Linked DNA regions of Homo sapiens: region 2 is linked to region 1. The links are contacts of gene promoters, found by promoter capture Hi-C in blood cells and fetal thymus (Javierre and others, 2016). All regions are on one chromosome and are shown on one strand. The core of a region is centred on a gene start or on the middle of the fragment in contact, and the rest is flanking DNA. Distances in the headings are between cores, read along the strand shown.

Evidence for each region. The method cuts DNA at HindIII sites, captures the fragments that hold promoters and counts their contacts. A CHiCAGO score of 5 or more calls a contact.
Region 2: a fragment that was not itself captured here is called in contact with the fragment with the promoter of AFF2 in region 1 in 1 of 17 cell types (neutrophils); the score reaches 5.2 in neutrophils.

Annotation. Positions count from the first base shown.
Region 1 is chrX:148,498,326-148,503,818 of GRCh38, reverse strand. AFF2 (ALF transcription elongation factor 2) reads right to left here and starts at 3,202. Exons shown (of 21, transcript NM_002025.4): 1 at 2,675-3,202. The coding sequence starts at 2,721. RefSeq lists an enhancer at 1,665-2,542. The HindIII fragment of the contact is 5,176 bases long and covers 536-5,493 here.
Region 2 is chrX:148,796,354-148,801,846 of GRCh38, reverse strand. The region is part of intron 3 of AFF2 (ALF transcription elongation factor 2); the gene reads right to left. Among named protein-coding and RNA genes, the nearest start is that of AFF2, 300 kb to the right of the region's middle. The HindIII fragment of the contact is 4,244 bases long and covers 1,236-5,479 here.

The DNA.
Region 1 (5,493 bases), core at 1,953-4,452:
GGTATGTTCCATTAGGCATGTGAGCATTCCAAAACACTGCACATAACATGCACACTGCAGCATCATTAGTACCCCATCCTTTCCATTTGCATTTGCCCTAACAAATGTGTGTGTTTATAAATGGGCACACACTTTTTGTTTACTACAGTCAAGTGTTTGCAAATAACACATATGCCTGTGTATGTAAAGTCTTTCTTCATTATGTCTAGGAAAATGAGTTTGTTTTTAAGCTGTCCTGATCCATTTATTGTCAGACATCTAGGGTTGCAGTAGAGACAGCTCAGAGCTTACTGTTCCATAAGTGAATGTTAAGAATAAATTCAAGGTAAATAAGATCGTTAACTTTGCTGGTCTTTTTTCCTTTCTTGGCCCTCCTGGGGGCTTGGGGGCGTGGGGAGTGGAGGCCATCACTTTAAGTAGCTATTTACTCCCAAGGAATGGAAGTAAACATATAATGAACACGTAACTGGCATGCTCTGGACTTCCAAAGAGAAGTGGGAAAGGTACCAATTTCCACTCAAGACAATGTCAAGCTTTTTAGTTCATCCACTATTGTCACATTTATGTTCCTTTTCTCTGTGGAGCTATACAAAACACAAAAGCACAACCACATTACAAATGTTTATAAACAGAGATGCATCACGAAGTGTGCCACTCACGAGCAGTAAGAAGGAGAAATTTTCCTGGATCATGTACAGAGGGAAAGGACAGGCTTATTTATGCAGATGCGTTACACTAATTAATCAGTATTTCACATAATATTCACGAAGTGTCCAAGTCTATGCTTCTTAACTGATGTGTCTCAGTTAGGGATCTGGAGGAAAAAAAGGTTTTGCATTTTCCTTAAGATAAGAAAAAGAAAGCCTCCCACAGGGGTGAGGGAGCCTATCATTTTTTTTAAAGAAATCAAACATAAAAGAGTCCATTCCCTTTAAATATGCAATTGCATATGCATAAGATTAAACCGGAATTAATATAAAAAACATGTTTCTAAAAACCTAATACCTTGTATATGTTTAACATTTGAACTATACCCATGAAATTAATTATAACAATGTCTGTTAAATTAACGATGTAACCCACACCACATATTAGGCAAATTGTATGCAAATAGAGTGCTATGGTTATCAGTTGTCTGCAAAATAAATTAGTGAAGCAGAGTAAAGGCTGTGTGCAGAAGCATAATATCTAATTGAGCAATAATTTTATAGTAATTTTTACTTTCAAATAACAGCATTTTTTAATGTAACAATGTATTTCTACAGAGCTGATAAAACCGTGGTATCCAAAACGCCTTATAGATTAATACTGATACAGCATAATTTGCGCTTCAAGGATTTATCCGGAATTGCTGTAAAATAAAATGTATTTAAGTTCTGACTATCTTGGATTTGCAACTAAAGGAGGCATGATTGGCATAATGAAGCTGTTGGCTAAGCATATGACCCTTTTTTAAAGAAGGAAATTGCCTAAAATATCACATCAACAGGGGAAATCCTTGTAAAAATACACAGCATTCATAACCAACGGCCGCTAGTAGTTTAACATTGCAAAAGATTTCGCACTATTGGTAGGTACTACAGATCATTCTAAATACATTTTAAAAGGCAATAACCAAGAATGCAATTTTAAGCGGTTACCACTGCGCCCCCTCCCCATCTAATTCCTTAGACTGCGGGGGGAATCTGATACGTTTAAGTATTATGACAAATAAACTGTGATAATGTTTGTAGTAGGTGAAGTTTTTGAAAAGTTAATAGATATGTATATCAGTATTTATGCACACGCGCACGCACATCTCTAAGAGAGTTAACAACTTTCCAGGTCCCCAGTCACCTTTCTACCATCTTTCAAAATGTCTCAGCGACAAGTTTAGGGTATTTTGTGAAGAGCTGACTCAACCTTTGAATCTGAGCTGGAGGTCCCTTACAAAAAACTACGGCTGCCTCCCAGTGGGAGGCCGAAGGGGGTCCATCCGGTAATTAAATGTGCATTGACATCAGAGCTGCGGATTTGGGGGGCCAACTCCGAAAACCCTCAGTCTTGAAAGCCAAGCGCCGAAGTCGGCCTCGAACCAAGGTCCCCTGAGTGGTGGCCCCCAAAGCCGCTGCTCCACCCGGGAGTGCAGGGAACTTGGGCTGAGTCGGCAGAAGGAAAGGTGTGCGCGCCGCGCAGCGCAGGGATGGAGGTGGCGGCAGCGGGGGCGGTGGCCACCAAGGAAGCAGAGGGCTGCTGGCCGCACCTGGCCGTTGCCTTTCCCCCATGGCCCGCCGCGGGCGTTGGGCACCTGGAAAGTTGAGACATTTCGGGCGGGCGGCATCCGGGGCTCAAGGAGGCCAGACCGGCAAGCCGCTCCGAGAGAAAAGCTCCTGGGAGGTCGTGCGGTTCAGCCCTCGGGCGGCACCGAATTCGATGTGAGCCAAATGCAACTCTTTAGACTTGGAGCGCAAAGCGACGCTTTCGGGTCCGCATCCCTCCCTCTTCCCGCACCTCCCCCCACCCCGGCATCCGACCTAGGAGTCAGCGCGGCCGGGGCCAGAGGTGGCTGAGAGCAAGTGGGAGGGAGTCCGGGGCGCCCCCCACGACAGCTTCAGCTCCTCTTAACAAAGGCGAAAACCTCAGACTTCGCCAGGAGACTCGCTCATCAAAGGAGAAGGCAAAAATCAACACCTACCACTGCTGCTCCAAGTCCCAGTCTCTGAAAAAGTCGAATAGATCCATAGCGGCCAGGCGGCGGCGGCGGGCGGGCGCCTGTCCCTGATCGCAGCGGGTCGGCGCGGCTCTCGGCACAGCTCGCTGGCGGTTCTCGGCGGCCCCCGGCTCTCCAGCCCTCCCGCCCAGCTAAAAGTGTCCGGGCCGCATCGGCAGCAGCAGCGGGCGCTGGAGGTGTCTGGTCCTGTGCTCCGGCGAGGAAGCGGCGGCAGTGGCACTGGGCGGGCAAGCGCCTGGTCGCCCACTCGGGTCCGCTCGGTCCGCGGTAGCCCGCGCACCCAGCGACCCGACGCTGCGGCGGCAGCCGCTGCGGGCTCAGGCGGGCTGGGCCGCCCGCCTGGCTGGCTGCGGGCCGGCGGCGGCAGCGGCGGCGGGGGCGGCCGGGGCAGAGGCAGCGGCGCGGCGCGGCAGCCGGGGCGGCAGCGGCGGCGGCGGCGGCGGCGGCGGCGGCGGCGGCGGCGGCGGCGGCAGCGGCTGCACAGGCGGCGGCGGCGGCCGCGGCAGCATCACACACTTACACACTCACAGGGGGCGGAGCCTGGACAGCTAGAAGCCGCGACATGGAGCAGGCACGTTATCATCCCCGGATCTGGCAGGGGCTCGCCGCGCCCGCCCCTGCCTTTCGGGAACCCTCTCCCACCCCCCACTGTCAAAATCAGCTAGTGGGAGCGGCCACAGAGCTGAGGACCCGGACCCGGACCCGGGACGCAGGGGCCGTGGCAGGGATACAGGAGGTGGGCTGGCGGGACCAGGACGCGGGCTTCGGGAATGGGACCCCTCTCTGAAGCCCAGCCCACCCCCACCACTGGGAATTAGTTTTGAACTAGAAAAGACAGCACAAACAGCCGTGGGGTTGAAGGTCGCCCCCTGCCACCTCAAGCACAGCTCCTTGAGCCCCCGAGTAGTGGAGCAAACTTTGCGGGCCTGAGCATCCCTCAGGTCTGTAGTGCGTAGCACGCGGGTCCAGGAAGGAGAAGGCGGTCACCTTCACCAGCCCCGTGGCTCCACGTGCCCGCACCCAGGCCCTCCAGGCATGCCTTTAGGCGCGCACCTAGTAGGTCAGCGAGCTATAGGCCCTGGATTCAGTGGGCAGCAAGGATAGGAACAAATGACTGCCCTTGCGTGGTCCTTGAGTTCGGGGTTAGGATACTGTTAAACTGGGTTCCACTGTCACTTTCCTCGCACGGTCACCAGGTGCCTTGAGCAAAAGACTTCTGCTAGCTCCTCCTCTGAGAAATGGGAAAACCACTGGGTGTGTGCCCAGTATCCCACGCACCGGCTGCCCGTCTCCCTTCTGGCCTGAAATTCTCTTTCTGCACGTGGAGGGTTTAACCGAGCCTCCTACTCCCTTCAACCTCCACCTCTGATCCAGGAAGGAGTGGATCCCTTTAGCCAATTCCCTGGAGGGAAAGGTTCCCTGGCCTCCGTGCAGAGAAAGGTCTGTGGGAAGGGGCGGGACCGCTTTCTGGCATTTCAGGACATGAGCATTCTGGAGTCCTAGGCATGTAATTTGCCTTCTTCGTGTCGTTATACAGAGGGAATAGTATTGGCACATTTTTCAAATCCTAAGGCTAGAACTCTCTTGGGAAGGACAGCAGACTGAGCCCTGACAGAGCAGGGTGCCGGTAGCTCTGTGTGTGACTCCAAGCAAGTCACTTATCTGGGCCTCAGTTTCTCCATAAAACACCCAGCAGCCCTCTGGCTCATACTTCTCTGACATTCTCCCTTCTATTTGAATATGCTTCTACAGTATTATCTCATATTACCAAAATCATCCAAATACCTTTTAACTTCATTTTTTTCCTGAAGAAACAGAGACCCTAAGACATTAAAATGCTCAAGATCTGATATTTCCCCTAGAGGGGGATCCCAGATTAGAACCTAGAACCTGGGAAGCTCTTCCAGGGCTGGAGCCAGTAGAAGGTGCCTCAGCTCCAAGCATGAATGACTTCAGCATTTGAGCTACAAGGGGCCCAGGGTCTGGTCTCTTTCACATTGTTTTACGGGGGGAAAGAAAGCACATCATTAACATAGAGAAACAAGGCTCTAAGATTCTGCAACTCAAGCATCCACTGGGACTTTGCTTAGATGTCTATTTACTTTGCATGGGACCAAGTCCTCAACAGATGCTGGTTGACTGATGGAAAATCAACCAGTGGGCAGCCAAGGGGAGACGACATCTCAAAGTGGCTTGTAGATTTGGCTACCTGTAAACTCCTCTGGTCAAAAAGACTCTATGGAGAAACAGTTATTGGCAAAAATGGTGCTGGGGATTTTCAAATTATCTCTGTGACTTATTTATTCATGGAATTCTAGTATTCAGCCCTGGACTGAGAGCCCTTAAAGCAACAAGGACGGCCTCGCTCAGATCTGTGGCCCCCGACCTTTATGCCTTCAGTAAAAAATCCTCAAATTGGATTTGATTGCTGATGATGGTTGCCAGCATTAGTACTTGATCTGCTTGAAAATCCTTAGAGGAAAGCCAGAACACCTACAATTAACATTTAAATGGTGATTATGGTCACTTTATTTCTGGTTTACTTTTCTCACAAAATTGTATTTAATGGGGAAAGATAGAAAAAAAAATAACATGCTAGGCAAACAAATTTTCAACAGAAATAAAGCTGCCCCTTTAAGAGTTCCAGCCCCCCATCACCTCACTGGTGCACTTTCTTCCCAATCAGCAGGAGGACCAAGCAGAAGCAGAAGGAGCCAGCAAGAGGCAGCACTATGAACAGAAGTGCCTGCGGGAAGGAGAGAAGAGACAAGTGGTGCCGGCTG
Region 2 (5,493 bases), core at 2,108-4,607, 300 kb before region 1:
AGTGAATAAACAATTCCTACTGTGAAAGGAGGTGGAGAAATGAAATAATATAAAGTGGTGATGTGGAGTCAAGGTTTTTGTTTGGTTTTGTTTTTATAAGAGGGATGATATTAAGATATATTTATATACTTGATGCGTAGAACTCAGTGAAGAGGGAAAAAGTGTGGCAAAAGAGAAACTGGATGATTGTAAAAGCAAAGTCCTTGATAAGGAGGGAGTCGATCAAGACACAACTGAAGAGGTTGGCCTGAAATAGGAACATGGACACTTCTGTACACTTCTTCCATTGTAACAGGAGGGAAGGCAGAGTGCCTAGGTACATAAGCAGCTGGGTTGGAGAAATTAAAGATGAGAAGATGACATGGTACTTGTCTGATTGTATCTTATTTTTCTCTATGAAGTATGCGGCAAGATCATCAGCTGAGAGTGGGGTGTGGTTACTGGAAATTGGAAGAGAAAAGAAAGGTTGGAATAGTTGTCTTCGAAAACAGAAACATGGATCATAGACTTGCTAGGGAAGTATAATAGAAGGGATAAGGAGGCGGGGAGAAAGAAGGGAGTTGGAGGCCAAGTAGCTCTGATGATTTGGAAGAAGGTGACACTGCTCCTCACTGTTAGCTTCTGCTTTTTCCAACACTGATTAATTAACCATAGTTCACAGTTCTCCAAATGCTCTAATCTAGAAGAGGCTTCATTCTGACTGCAATAAGCAGAAAGCGCAGGAGTAGGACTAATGACCAGGACTCCACCGTAGTGACTCCTGTAATATTATCCAGAAGGCCAGATGAAATTAAGCCCAGGGCCAAATTTAAGCCCCAAGGCTTGAGGATCTCCCCTGGGCCTAACTGAATGCTACTCTGTCTCTTTGGGAGCACAGAGAACTCGATTAACTCATATCCTCCTGAGAGAAATCATTCCTTTAGAACATTAGACGGAGTTTCTGAATTGTTTAAAGAAGAGCTATTTTTAATCATTGAAATATTTTGTATTCAAGCAAGCATTTTACACATTTAATATGTGATTGCTATCATGTAGTATTTTAAAATACGATTATCTTTTATGTGTCTTGGACTGACAAGTTCTTCAAATCATTTACAGTGTCTAAGATACAAGGACTTCCTCATGGGAAAAAAAAAGTGGGAGTTCAGTTTTTTCTGGTAATTTCTGAAGGCATTGCCACAGGTATATTATGGGGTCTTAAATTAAGTTCCATAACCCCGTTTAAAAAAGAAGCTTTTAAATATGTACCTTTGGCTCTTATTTTTTGAAAATCTTTTAGAAAAAAAAGGACTTACCTTGACATTCACAATCCCTCGCCCTAAAGAAACTACAATGGTCTTCTTACAAATAAATAACTAATGATTTAAACGTCTTTTTGAAAACCAAAAACTCAGATATCAGTTTTTCCTTTAACTAAATTCCTCTTAAAGCAATGTAAATGGAATAGACTTTATAAATCGTACCCACAGATGCCCTCAATAAAACAGTGACAACAGAATACACTTGATAGAAAGTGGCTCTACTTTTGTACTAACCTCTAACGAACTTGGCGCCTTATTGACTCTCTATACTCCGCACTTAGGATTGTCTTAATTGCCAGTGGATGACACTGAAATTCCACAGAAACAGAGTTACAATTGCTCTTCTTTGACAGTGATGATCCTAAAGAACAAGCCATGTGCATGGGAACTGAATCCTCGCCAGCTCCCCTATTATTTATGACTCTAATTAAAACACTTTTATCTATTAATGCCAAGTGACACAGCTAAATATATTCAGGGAAGTTCACATTTTTTCTGTACTTCTGAAATCTCTTAGATCTGCGCCCACTTACATGTGGTTTAACTGCTCACTAAAATGAAACGATAGCTAAGAATAACTCACTTTCATTAGATTTATAAATCTCATTAATTAAATCTACATCTCCAATGGTGTAGAGACCAAACTCAAATGCAAGATCTAATTAAAGAGAAGTAAAAAAAAAATGTTAAGAAACAACACTGAGATTGAAACACAGAAGTAACTGTTTAGCCTCAAATTAATGAGGCGCTATGCTAAGCAAGCATGTCCATTAATCCCTAATGAGGATTTTAAACACATTAAAACTTTCTAATACAAAATGTTTGCCTTCCTTTTATCCAATAACAAATAAGCCAATAATTTTCTGGCTCTAAATGACACTATTAACTGTCATGGCATGTTTTATTTGACAAACCCTCCATTCAAATACTGTAAAACCAATTAATTTGCCTGCTGTGAAATGTGTTTCTTGATAGCTTTTATGTGATTTTCTTTTCTTCTCAAAGAAATGTAAATAGGAGGTCAATGTAGGTGCCTGATTTTGCTTTAAAAATATGCCACAGTAGGTATAGGTTGTCCACTCGGTTTGCATTTCAAATGAATTGAAAGACAACCTCCATTTTCAGGTCATCAATCTCAGATTGTTCTCCTGATAAGTAAACTGTGTCAGAGTAATAGTTTGATTACCATGATGATGGTCTTATATTTGAGAAGGGAGTGTTGGCAAAATTACCATTTTGTTTGATTATAAATAATGATTTGCAACCGTGGCCCTTATCTTTCCTGCTTTGTTAAGTGACCTGGCTTTGTTACCTGTGTCTGACTATATCCAGCCTCTTCCAAAATGCACCTGCATGTGTGTCCAGGAAATCACTCAATAAAATTGGAGCTTATTCCTGATGCTTTTTATTTGGAAACATCACAATTTGTTACACTTCTTGTTGGCAAGAAAATCAATAGAACAAACACAAGAAGTTTGTTTCTTAAACTTCCCCTGGGCCTTACTTAGTATCTTCTGTTAGCTGGAGAGATGGCCCCAAGGTCCTGTCTGTCCACCATTTATGAGACACTGAAATTCTTGGCTCATGGAAGGGCATGGCACTTTTCCAGAAAATCACTCTGCAAAAACTGACCCCTGAAATAGACATAGTGTGTGTCATAAAGGGTCTGTGACATTAAATGTGGGCCAGCTCTGTGGAGCATCTCAAGCCCATTGAATTTTATGCTGAAGATCAAAGAAGGAGTGATACATGGTGTACCATGGTTTATGAAGCCTAACGGTCTATGCCAATTAACGTGGACAGCATATACCCAGCATCAGTGATCCTAACTTTTCTCGCATCCACAAGAAAACAAGGTATTGATTATTTCTGAGTTGTGGAAGTATGTAGGATAAACAGATACCTGGCAGGCATTTATAATTTCAGGTACAAGCACAACACATTACTGATAAAATAAACTCTTAATGAACTAACCAGACCTACTCTTGACCAGAATTAATGTGTTGCAGTACTTCTAAATTTGGCGTTTGGAAAATCTGTTCATGTAAAGGAAATAATCCCAAATGACAAATATGCATTGCACCCTCAGTATGCACAGTGCACTAAGCTAAGCATTAGGTAAAATGCAGTACATGATAAACAATGGCTGTCCACAGGGAGTGCTATGGCTTGAATGTTTGTCCTTTCAAAACGTCATGTTGAAATTTAATTGCCACTGTAACAGTATTCAGAGGTGGGGCCCTTAGGGTTGATTAGGCTATGGGGGCTCTGCCCTCATGAATAAATTAATGTCATTATCATGGGAGTGGGTTCCTGATAAAATGACAAGTTTGGCACTCTTTTGTTTCTGCTTCTCTCTCTGTCTCTCTCACTCTCTCTCTCTCTCTCCCCAACCTCCAACTTCTTCCATGTGATGCCTTCTACCATGTTATAATGCAGAAAGAAGGCCTGTGCCAGATGCTGACATCTTGATATTGGACTTCTCAATTTCTAAAACTGTGAGCCAATAAATTTCTGTTCATTATAAATTACCCAGTCTCAGGTATTCTGTTATAGAAGCACAAGACAGACTAAGACAGGGAGGGTATACTATAGACGAGTAGACAAGACCTGCATATCTAAAGTGAGGAATTACAGTGCATGTTAGCAGATATCTTTTTTTGATCCCTAAATGAGGCACATTGGCAGAAAAAAAATTTTCTTTCAGTGGGTACCAAAGTCAGCTTGCATGACGTGATTTACATGGCCAAATATGGGAATTTCTAGAATACCAATTTATGGGGAGAATGAATTGAAATCAGGGCTATCCTGGAAATCCAGTTTATGTGGTGATCATATTTTAAAAAGCCAGATTCATGGCTCTGACAATAACTTTAATAGAAAGTCACGAAAGGAAAAACTGTCCATGGATCTGGTGGTCAAGCAAGGAAGTAAGACAGGACCTTAACTTTGAATAAGAGAAAAAATTCAGATAGAGAGTGACTTTGGCATTTGGAAAAGACAGAAAGTAGTTTCCTGAAAGTACTTTATTTTTGGCATAGTGAAATGTAATTGGCTAAGAACAGAAAATGTGGTAGATTAATCTGAACAGAGTTCCTCTGAGTATGGTGGACATCTATATGTAACACTTTGTCCCTGCCCTCAGGATTCCTTTAGCACTTCATGAGATACTGTTTAATATACTTGAACTGACTGTCTTGAAGAAACTCTATTGGTTCAGTGACAAACTGTATGACTTTGGGCAAGTCACAGTTTTCCCAGATGTAAAACAAGCGGGTTGGCTTAGAATCCAGTCTTTAAGGTGACTCGTGTCTGTTAAGTCTGTCAATCTGTGGCCCAAAAGCAGATTAATTTGAAAGATTCAACTTGTGTTAATCTCTAGCTAGTAGAAGTCTCTAATCTAAAATTAAAAGCTACACATTTCACAGGTACAGAGCCTGCATGATCTACAGAAGTAAAAATGTTAAGCCATTCCTGCAAGTATTTTCATAACGAAAACAGACGACAGGCAACGTGCTTTAGAGCTAAAGTGGAAGCATTAAAATGTAGATAGTTCAATTTTTAATACCAAACATACTACAATGACAATTAGATGTCATTTTCAAAAATAACCTGTTGCCCCAAGGCCAAAGTATCTCAACTATGTGAGAGCTTCATGTTAAGTATGAGGTTATTGCTAAATGGTAGTGAAAATATAATCGATACTTTGCTAAGTCAATAAATTTCAAGCCAAAACATGTAGAAATGGCTCTGTTTGAAAAGATTATTTTGAAAGAAAAAAACATAATTGTTCCTAAGTCTTCCATTTTAATCAAGATTTGGCAATACACTGAGACCATCAGACATCAAGCGTTCTTGCGACCTTTTCAACTGTCAGGCCAGACAGATTTTTATCTTATGTGAACCAACCCACAGCCTCAAAGGTGCAGTGTCAGAGCATGAATCCATTTCGCTAGACAGTCATTGAAATTATAATTCAAAGTTCAACTTACTTTCGCATTGTCTAATGCAATACTTTGGGCAGCCCAGGGCAGAAAGTCGAAGCCCGGTTTCCAATGGAGATTATTTCTAGTGGTTTCTAACTGTTGGCAGCCAGAATTTCTTCTTGTCAAATAGATCAGCAGATGCAGGGTTTCATTAATTTACTTTCAATGACTGCTGCTAACTCTTAGGAAGCTTTTCTTTACCTAAG